Linked DNA regions of Homo sapiens: regions 2 and 3 are each linked to region 1. The links are contacts of gene promoters, found by promoter capture Hi-C in blood cells and fetal thymus (Javierre and others, 2016). All regions are on one chromosome and are shown on one strand. Each heading gives the region's core, a stretch centred on a gene start or on the middle of the fragment in contact. The rest is flanking DNA. Distances are from core to core; before and after follow the strand shown.

What was found. Contacts are between HindIII fragments. The CHiCAGO score rates a contact against its expected background, and 5 or more counts as called.
Region 2: a contact is called between a fragment that was not itself captured here and the fragment with the promoter of GCOM1 in region 1, in 1 of 17 cell types (fetal thymus). The highest score is 7.0, in fetal thymus.
Region 3: a fragment that was not itself captured here is called in contact with the fragment with the promoter of GCOM1 in region 1 in 4 of 17 cell types (naive CD4 T cells, naive B cells, total CD4 T cells and 1 more); the score reaches 9.6 in naive CD4 T cells.

The regions. Positions count from the first base shown.
Region 1 is chr15:57,590,602-57,593,212 of GRCh38, reverse strand. GCOM1 (GCOM1, MYZAP-POLR2M combined locus) reads right to left here and starts at 1,309. Exons shown (of 17, transcript NR_104371.3): 1 at 1,104-1,309. MYZAP (myocardial zonula adherens protein) reads right to left here and starts at 1,309. Exons shown (of 13, transcript NM_001018100.5): 1 at 1,104-1,309. The coding sequence starts at 1,178. RefSeq lists a silencer at 1,311-1,420. The HindIII fragment of the contact is 3,808 bases long and covers 516-2,611 here.
Region 2 is chr15:58,068,327-58,070,937 of GRCh38, reverse strand. ALDH1A2-AS1 (ALDH1A2 antisense RNA 1) reads right to left here. Exons shown (of 3, transcript NR_147215.1): 3 at 1-130. Among named protein-coding and RNA genes, the nearest start is that of ALDH1A2, 3.9 kb to the right of the region's middle. The HindIII fragment of the contact is 1,429 bases long and covers 572-2,000 here.
Region 3 is chr15:57,864,518-57,867,128 of GRCh38, reverse strand. No RefSeq gene overlaps it. Among named protein-coding and RNA genes, the nearest start is that of POLR2M, 160 kb to the right of the region's middle. The HindIII fragment of the contact is 1,245 bases long and covers 683-1,927 here.

The DNA.
Region 1 (2,611 bases), core at 60-2,559:
TGTGTGTGTGTGTGTGTGTGTGTGCGCCTGTGTACACAACCTAAGTGTCTGGTGAGTGCACGCACACACACACCCCAGAATCCATCAGTTGGCCCATGCCCAAGAGTAACACACCTTTCTTCTAGAGCTAAGAAAGACAGCTTATAAGGTGACCACCATCACTCGCTTAAGGCATGTAAAAGCAAATAAGCAGGTCCAAGCCTGCACGCAGACAGAACCAGTGGGGGTTTTGCTTTGGACTTAACCACCTGTTTAAATCTTGAGGAAACACGATTACAGAAGTCTCAATCAGAGCAAAGAGGTACCAAATGATAAGTATTGAACATCATGATAAATGGAAGAACTAAAAAGCCACAAGCCAAGCCCCTGGCTGTGGCTCTAAGGTGCTGACCGTGTTAGAAAGATGGAGCATTTCTTTTACAGAGCATCTGGAGAGATGGGAAAAGATGCCACAAAGATCAAAAAGAAACAGCACTTCCAAAGGGAAACCTTCCCTGGAGATGCTGTCCCAAGCTTTCAGTGCTGCCATTGTTGTCACTGTGCTAATATTTAAATCAGACAGAAGAAAGTGGTTTACATAAACCGGAGTCCCACACAGTCGGGCTCCTGGGCGGCCGGCTGCTGTTCTGGTTTGCCCACCTTGGCTAACCCCACTCCAGAATTACCCTATCACTAGTGGATACCCTATCACTAGTGGACACAAGTGACCCCATCTTTCTTTTAATTAATGGAAGAAGGAAAGTTTGAGTTTTAAATACATTCATTACTTTTGAGTCTCAAGGTAGGGACACTGCACAAATGTCTTCCTTCATTTTTAAACTGGTGCCGCCAATAAACTCGGCTTGACAGAAAGGCAGGAAGGAGAGGAAATCTCTGGGAATTCCATAAAGTCCCCTAAGCCCTCTCCTACCAGCTGGTGGGCCCCCTGAAACCTCAAGCGGGAGGGTCACTGCCAGAGCCGGCACAGGACCGGGGAGTTGAGCCCAGGGTGGGGCGTCGGGGCCAGGTGCTGGCTCCCGAGCTTTCCCATCCCTAGTCCCCTCTAGAGGGGGCGGCCGGGATGGGGGAACGGGACGGCGGCGGCTCCCGCCCCCGCTACTCACCCTCCTGCTGGGCGCCCCGGGCGTCCTGGCGGCGCCGCCCGAGAGCAGGGTGACCGTGGACGTGGAGCGCAGCATCCCGCAGCGGCGGTCGGTAGCGGGCTGGACGCCGGCGTTCCTCCCGGGCAGAATAAGCGTGCGGGGCCCGCCCTGCGCGGGGGCGACGCGGGACGGCGCCGGCTACTTGCAGCCTCAGCTGCACCGCGAAGGCCCGGGGGTGGGGCCGGGGGCGGGGCCGGGCCGGGCCGGGGCGGGGCCGAGCGCGCTCACCCGACCCGTCAGGCTGCATTTTCTCCCGAGGGCGCCGACCCGGTTAAAGTTGAGCACCATCCTCTCCCAGGGCGCTGCGCCCTCCCAGGGTCAGTCCCAGGGCAAGAAGGAGCCCTGGACAGCCTGGACGCCCATGCTCTCTCTGTCCCCCGCAGAGTTGAGATCCACCTGCCCATTCAGTCTCACGACCTACCCCCACCCCGGACTGCCCCCTACAGCCTCTGCACGCCCTCGTATCACTGGGACCCTCACCCCATGTCATTCATTCAGTATTTCCTGAATGCCTATTATGCGTCCCCACCAGCAGCCAACCCAGTCGACTGGCTGTTGGCCTCGGAGAGTTTGCAGTGTGGTGGGGATGACAGGTGCCGGGCTGTGGTAGAAGAGGAGATACCATGTACTAAGGGAGCACACAGCCAACCTCAGAGGAGGTGATGACTAAGCTAAGACCTGAAATGCAAGTAGGAGTGGGCCACACTGCCCATATTTATTCAATGATTACTGTGGGCCTGCCTGGCGAGCACTTTGCGTGTGTTACCTCATTTAATCCTCACCATTGCCCTTTGAGGGAGTCACTGTTGTTACCTTGTATCCCCATTTTGCAGATGAAGACGCTGACTCACCTAGGGATTGAGCAACACAGCAGGCGACCCACTGGCCTCTCAGTGGCAAAGGTAGGATATGAATCCCCCAGTCCGACCCTAGTGCCTTGCTTGTCCCCTCTGCTGTCCCCTAACAGAGGGAGGAGGGAGTCCCAGGTCAAAAGAACTAGCATGCACAAAGATGGAAGGAAAGCAAGGGAAGGTATAAAATATGTTTCAAGAATTGGAAGTATCACAGTGCAGTGGGAAAACAGTGGAGAAGCAGCGGAAGGGAGCTGAGGACATCATGAGGAACCTGTGTGCTTAGCTGGAAATTTGGCCTTTATCTTGAGGACAAAGTGTTTTTCAGCAGGGAAAGACACAATCTCTGTCTTCAAAGCCCAGGTCAAGCACTGCCTCCCCACGGAGCTCTCCAGAAACCCCTTCCCCAAACACGCATGCTCAGGAACTTAGCAGCTCCGCGGGACCCTGTCTTCTGTTAGAGTTATCTATGTGTGTGCCTGTACCCTGTCCTTCTGGAGGGCAGAGGCCAGGCCTTGACCCTCTCTGAATGCCCAATGGCACCAACAGGGAAGATGCTGAAAAAAAAATGTTGCTAAACAGAATTACAGATGATCCTGTGGAACTCACTCCTTTTGT
Region 2 (2,611 bases), core at 37-2,536, 480 kb before region 1:
GTGATTATTGATGAAGTACTGCGCTCATCCCAGTACCCAAATTGAAGCTTCTCGAACATATACGAAATGGAACTGGGCCTTACAACAAAGGCAAATCTAGTTCCCATGTTTAAAATAGTCTCCGGGGTCCCTGAAAAGTAGAGGGTATATTTTAAAAGAAAAGAACTGTGTTTTGTATCAAAACATAGTTTTTTGAGTCATAACCAATTAGGACTCTACTCCCTGCAACTCCAAATACCTCTTCTCATAGAATATAGTGACCAGAGGCCATATCAAGAAATGAGGAACTTAATATCTAGAGAATTTTTATGGTTAATAAATACCACAGTCTCAGCCTCTTTTCTTCTGGATGTTAGAAGGAAAAGGATAATTAAATGAGAGTTTAGATCTCACATAAAAAGTTAATATACAGGTTAAATAAAAATATAAGTGGATTTATTTTATAGAAGTTTTCATAATGGGTCCCAAATACTTCATTAAGCATTTCTGGATAAAAATATGTAAAGCTCTTTATAAGCTTTTGTTAATAAATTAAATACCATTTCTCTATAAATATATTTTGCATTAAGCTTTCCTGTTAGAGTTTTCAGGAAACATTTCAAATAAAGTGGCCAGGCATATCCCATTTGAGATGAATGAGATCATTAGGAAACACTTATATCTGAAATAAGCACTGAGATCATTCTGCATACAACCTGAGGGCCCTAATTTTTTAAATATTTCAAACAATGTGCCTCTTTCAAATCATTAGATGTAGAGACATTTAAGGAACTGATTCAATTAGCCCAGAAGAGGGGAATGCTATAATGTGTGATTTATTTTTGAAGATAAATTAAAATGCAAGTGTATCTGTTAGGAAAGGTAGGCTGTCATCATGGTTAGTAATGGGAACAGGAAAGCAATTAAGCAGGGCCACCTGAGGCTGAAACAGCCCCTAAACATAGAAACTTGACATTCAAGCTGGACATTCGGTTACTGTCAAAATCAAGTGCATCTTCTTTGAGAGGGATCTTTGAGCTGCATTTAGTTCCCTTCATTGATTTCTAAAGACTAGTTCTCAACTTAACAAATACTTTCCTCCCCTTAACTGCAGCTAACAAGAAACCTAAACTGTTATGGTTTCATAACTTAAAGTCAAACTTCACATAAAGCTGATGCCTTAAAATTACAGCTTTGCATTCTATTATTTAGGTGAGGAAATATGAGGCAAGAATTTATTTTTCTCCTCTGCAACTCCAGGATATTGGCTCCACCAGGCCTAATAAATTGTTTTCATAAGGAAATAAATACAGCATGCTGCAGCTTAGGTTCCCTTATGCAAGGGGTTTCAAACAAGATGTATCCTAAGCAATAAATAATTACAGAATGGGGGGGGTGGGAGGAGAAACACTGTAAAGGTGGGAAAAAAACAGTTTCTTAGCCAAATTGGGGGGAAAAGGCTGAAATTCAAATTGTTAGAAATCTGAAGGTAGTTGACTGTCTTTTTATTTTTAGAGACAGGGTCTCACTCCATCACCCAGGCTGGAGTGCAGTAGCGTGATCATAGCTCACCATAACCTTGAACTCCTGCTTCAAGCGATTCTCCTCTTTCAGCCTCCTGAGTAGCTAGGGCTATAGGAATGCACCACCACGCCTGGATACTTTTTTTTTTTTTTTGGTAGAGGCAGGGTCTTGCTATGTTGTCCAGACTGGTCTTGAACTCCTAGCCTCAAGCAATCCTCCCACCTTGGCCTAATTACGGGTGTAAACCACCGCATCTGGCCAAAGACTGTCTTCTTAACTATTGTGAAATCTGTAGAGGATATGAGAAAACACTAAAACTAGATGATAAAAGAAAGAGAAGAGGAAATAAGAATGTGAGAAGAGGTGTTAAGGCAGCCTTGGAAGTAATAGCCTTGTAAATCTTACAAACTGAAACCAAGAAGATGAACACCAAAGAAGCATTTATAATTCACTGTTCTTTTCCGCTACATCTTGTCCCTACCTTGATTTAAAAAGCTTGAACAACAGCCGGGCATGGTGGCTCATGCCTGTAATCCCAGCACTTTGGGAGTCCGAGGAGGGTGGATCAGTTAAGGTCAAGAGTTCGAGACCAGTCTGGCCAACATGGTGAAACTCCATCTCCACTAAAAATACAAAAATTAGCTAGGCATGGTGGTGAGTGCCTGTAATCCTAGCCATTCAGGAGGCAGAAGCAGGAGAATCGCTTGAACCCAGGAGGCAGAGGTTGCAGTGAGCCGTGATCATGCCATTGCACTCCAGCCTTGGTGACAGTCTCAAAAAAACAAAAAAGGGGGCTTGAACAAAAAGTGGCTGCTGTCACGAGCTGAATATAGACAAAATATATATCTTTTTTGGCCAGATACAGTGGCTGACACCTGTAATCCCAGCACTTTGGGAGGCCGAGGTGGGTGAATCATGAGGTCAGGCATTCGAGATCAGCCTGGCTGACATAGGGAAATCCTGTCTCTATCCAAAACACAAAAAATTAGCTGGGTGTGGTGGCAGATGCCTGTAATCCCAGCTACTCGGGAGGCTGAGGCAGGAGAATCGCTGGAACCTGGGAGGCGGAGGTTGCAGTGAGCCGAGATCACACCATTGCACTCCAGCC
Region 3 (2,611 bases), core at 56-2,555, 270 kb before region 1:
CTTCTGGATGATGGAAAAGCTCTGTATCTTGTTACTGTTTGAGGTTAGACAAGTATATGCATTTCTGAAGATTCTTTTTTGAATAGTACATTTAAGATCTGTGCATTTCACAGTATGTGAAGTATGCCTCAAAAAAAAAAATTCGTAAAAATATTGAAACCTGGCTGGCCACAGTGGTTCACGCATGTAATCCCAGCACTTTGGGAGGTCAAGGTGGGCGGATCACTCAAAGCCAGGGAGTTCGAGACCGTTCTGGCCAACATGGTGAAACCATGTCTCTACTAAAGTAAAAAAAAAAAAAAAAAAAAAAAAATTGAAACATCGTCCGTGATATGTATACTGAACTGTCCAGGGGTGAAGTGCACTAATGTCAGCAACTTACTTTAAGTTCATAAAAAAACAAAAAAAAACAAAAAACAAAAAAAAAACCAAACTTGGATTAATGGATAGAAACACGGATCAATAAATAATAAAGCAAATATAACAAAATGCTAATGGTAGGATCCAGGTGGTGGGTATATTGGTGTTCACTGTACAAAGCAATTATTTCGACTTTTTATATATTTTACAATGTTCACAGTAACACTGTTGGAGAAAATCAGGCCTTGTATTTTCTATGTCTTTATTGTGTCTTTCTAGTAACTTTTATTGCATTTTTAAAAAGTAATGGTCTGTAAAAGCTTAGGGGAAAAACCTGGTTCTTGGACACGGATAGTTTGCAAAACAGTCTAGAACCCAACAGAAAAGCCTGAAGCCCAAAGTCTCCACAGAGCCCCCTGGCGCCCAGGGGCCTTAGTGCAACCTTTTTGATCTAATGGCAGATGTAAAAACGCTCTGTGAAAGTCAGTGAGGTTGGGGTCCCTTTCTCCACTGGCCTCAGGAGGAAAGGAGGGACAGGACATAGGTTAATGGAGTGGATCAAGTCCTGCCGTGATCAGAGATAAAATTCCAGAGACCCTCTGACCGGATCTAAGAGTGGTTCCCCAATTTGGCTGTGAATGAAAAGTATCTCAGAGCTTTAAAAAAAAAAAGTAGAGATTTCTGATCTAGTCCAGATATTCAAAATCAGAATCCCTAAAGGGTAGAACTCGGTAGTGTGTGGGGGGGTGTATGTGTAACAAATTGGCCTGGGGGTTCTCACGCAGCTAGGCCACACTGGTGAGGTCTGAGAACCACTGCCAGAGAAAAGGTGACCAGCGTAGATCAGAATCTCATTTTGCTTTAATTTTAAATTAGATCAGAGGTTCTCAAATGGGAGGGTGCATCAGAACCACAAAGGGATTGTAAAAATACAGATTGCTTGGCCTCATCCCCAGAATTTGTTTCAGAAGGTGTAGCATGAGCTCCAAAAGCGTGCAAGTCTAATAAAGTTCTCAGGCAATGCCGATGCTGCTGACTGAGGGGTACACTTTGAGATCACTGCTTTTGTTCAATGGCTACAACTGAAATGGGCCTTTTTGCCAGATTCTCAACTGGAGGTCTAGGCCTGTGCTATGCTGTTCAGTATAGGGGCCACTAGCCACATGTGGCTCTGTAACTTCCAAGTGAAATTAATTAAAATTGAATAAACTTGAACATTTAGTACTTCAGCCATGGTACCCACATTCCAGGTGCTCAGCATTCACTGGTGGCTGGTGGCTCCCCTAGTGGACAACATAGGTCAGAACATTTCCATCATCATGGAAGGTTCTGTTGGGGGGCACCTTTGCTCATTTCTTCAGGTATCATCACCCTTCCATGTCGATCAGCCTTTTGCTTAGACACGAGATTTCACAAAACCAACCAAGCACGTCTATGGCTTTACACACAGAGGTTTCATTTTATTATTTAAAAGTTTCTTTGAGGACCTACTATGGAAAACTACTGTGCTACGTGCTGTGTGAGCCACAAAGATCGATGGAACAATATCTTTACCTTCAAGTAAGCTTATAAACAAGTTACGAAGACACCTGTACACTTTATACCTATTGAGATTTTACTAGAAAACTCTGCCCACTAAGTGCCACCATTCAAAACATAGTAAAGCAATTACCAACCAATCAGAAATGGTTCCAGTCCCAAGCAGAAGGGCTGGTTACTCCCACAAATTAATAGAGTAATAGTGGCTAGCATCAACTGGGCCCTCACCGCGAGCCTGAATAGTGCACTAAGCCTTTGAAATGAATGGGGATGGTATCAGTGCTCACCTCACAGCCCTGCACTTAAACATGTCACATAGAAGGCACTGGAAATCTCCAAAGTGTCAATTTGAGCACCTTTTCTAAAAAATGACCGGCACTCAGGTCTTGCGGGGAGAGGTAGAAAAAGACAGGGAAGATCTATATTGTTATTCAGTTCTGAGAAAACTTTGAAATGTTCTGACTTTCCTTTGTCAATTTTACAAAAGTTTTCCTAATTTCCACTTAATCATCCACTCTTTTATTTGGCAGCATTCTCCTGAAACTTTGGTTTGAGGGCCACACAGGAGATTCAATGTGAAAACTCCCATAGTACTCCTTCCTCTCAGCTTCTACCTTAACTAGTTTGGGTTTGTTGTCATTCAAAACTAATTAAACAGAGGTTAATTTTCAGAATTGGCAGCTCTTAGGTAATTTTAGAAGCTCAATTTTAC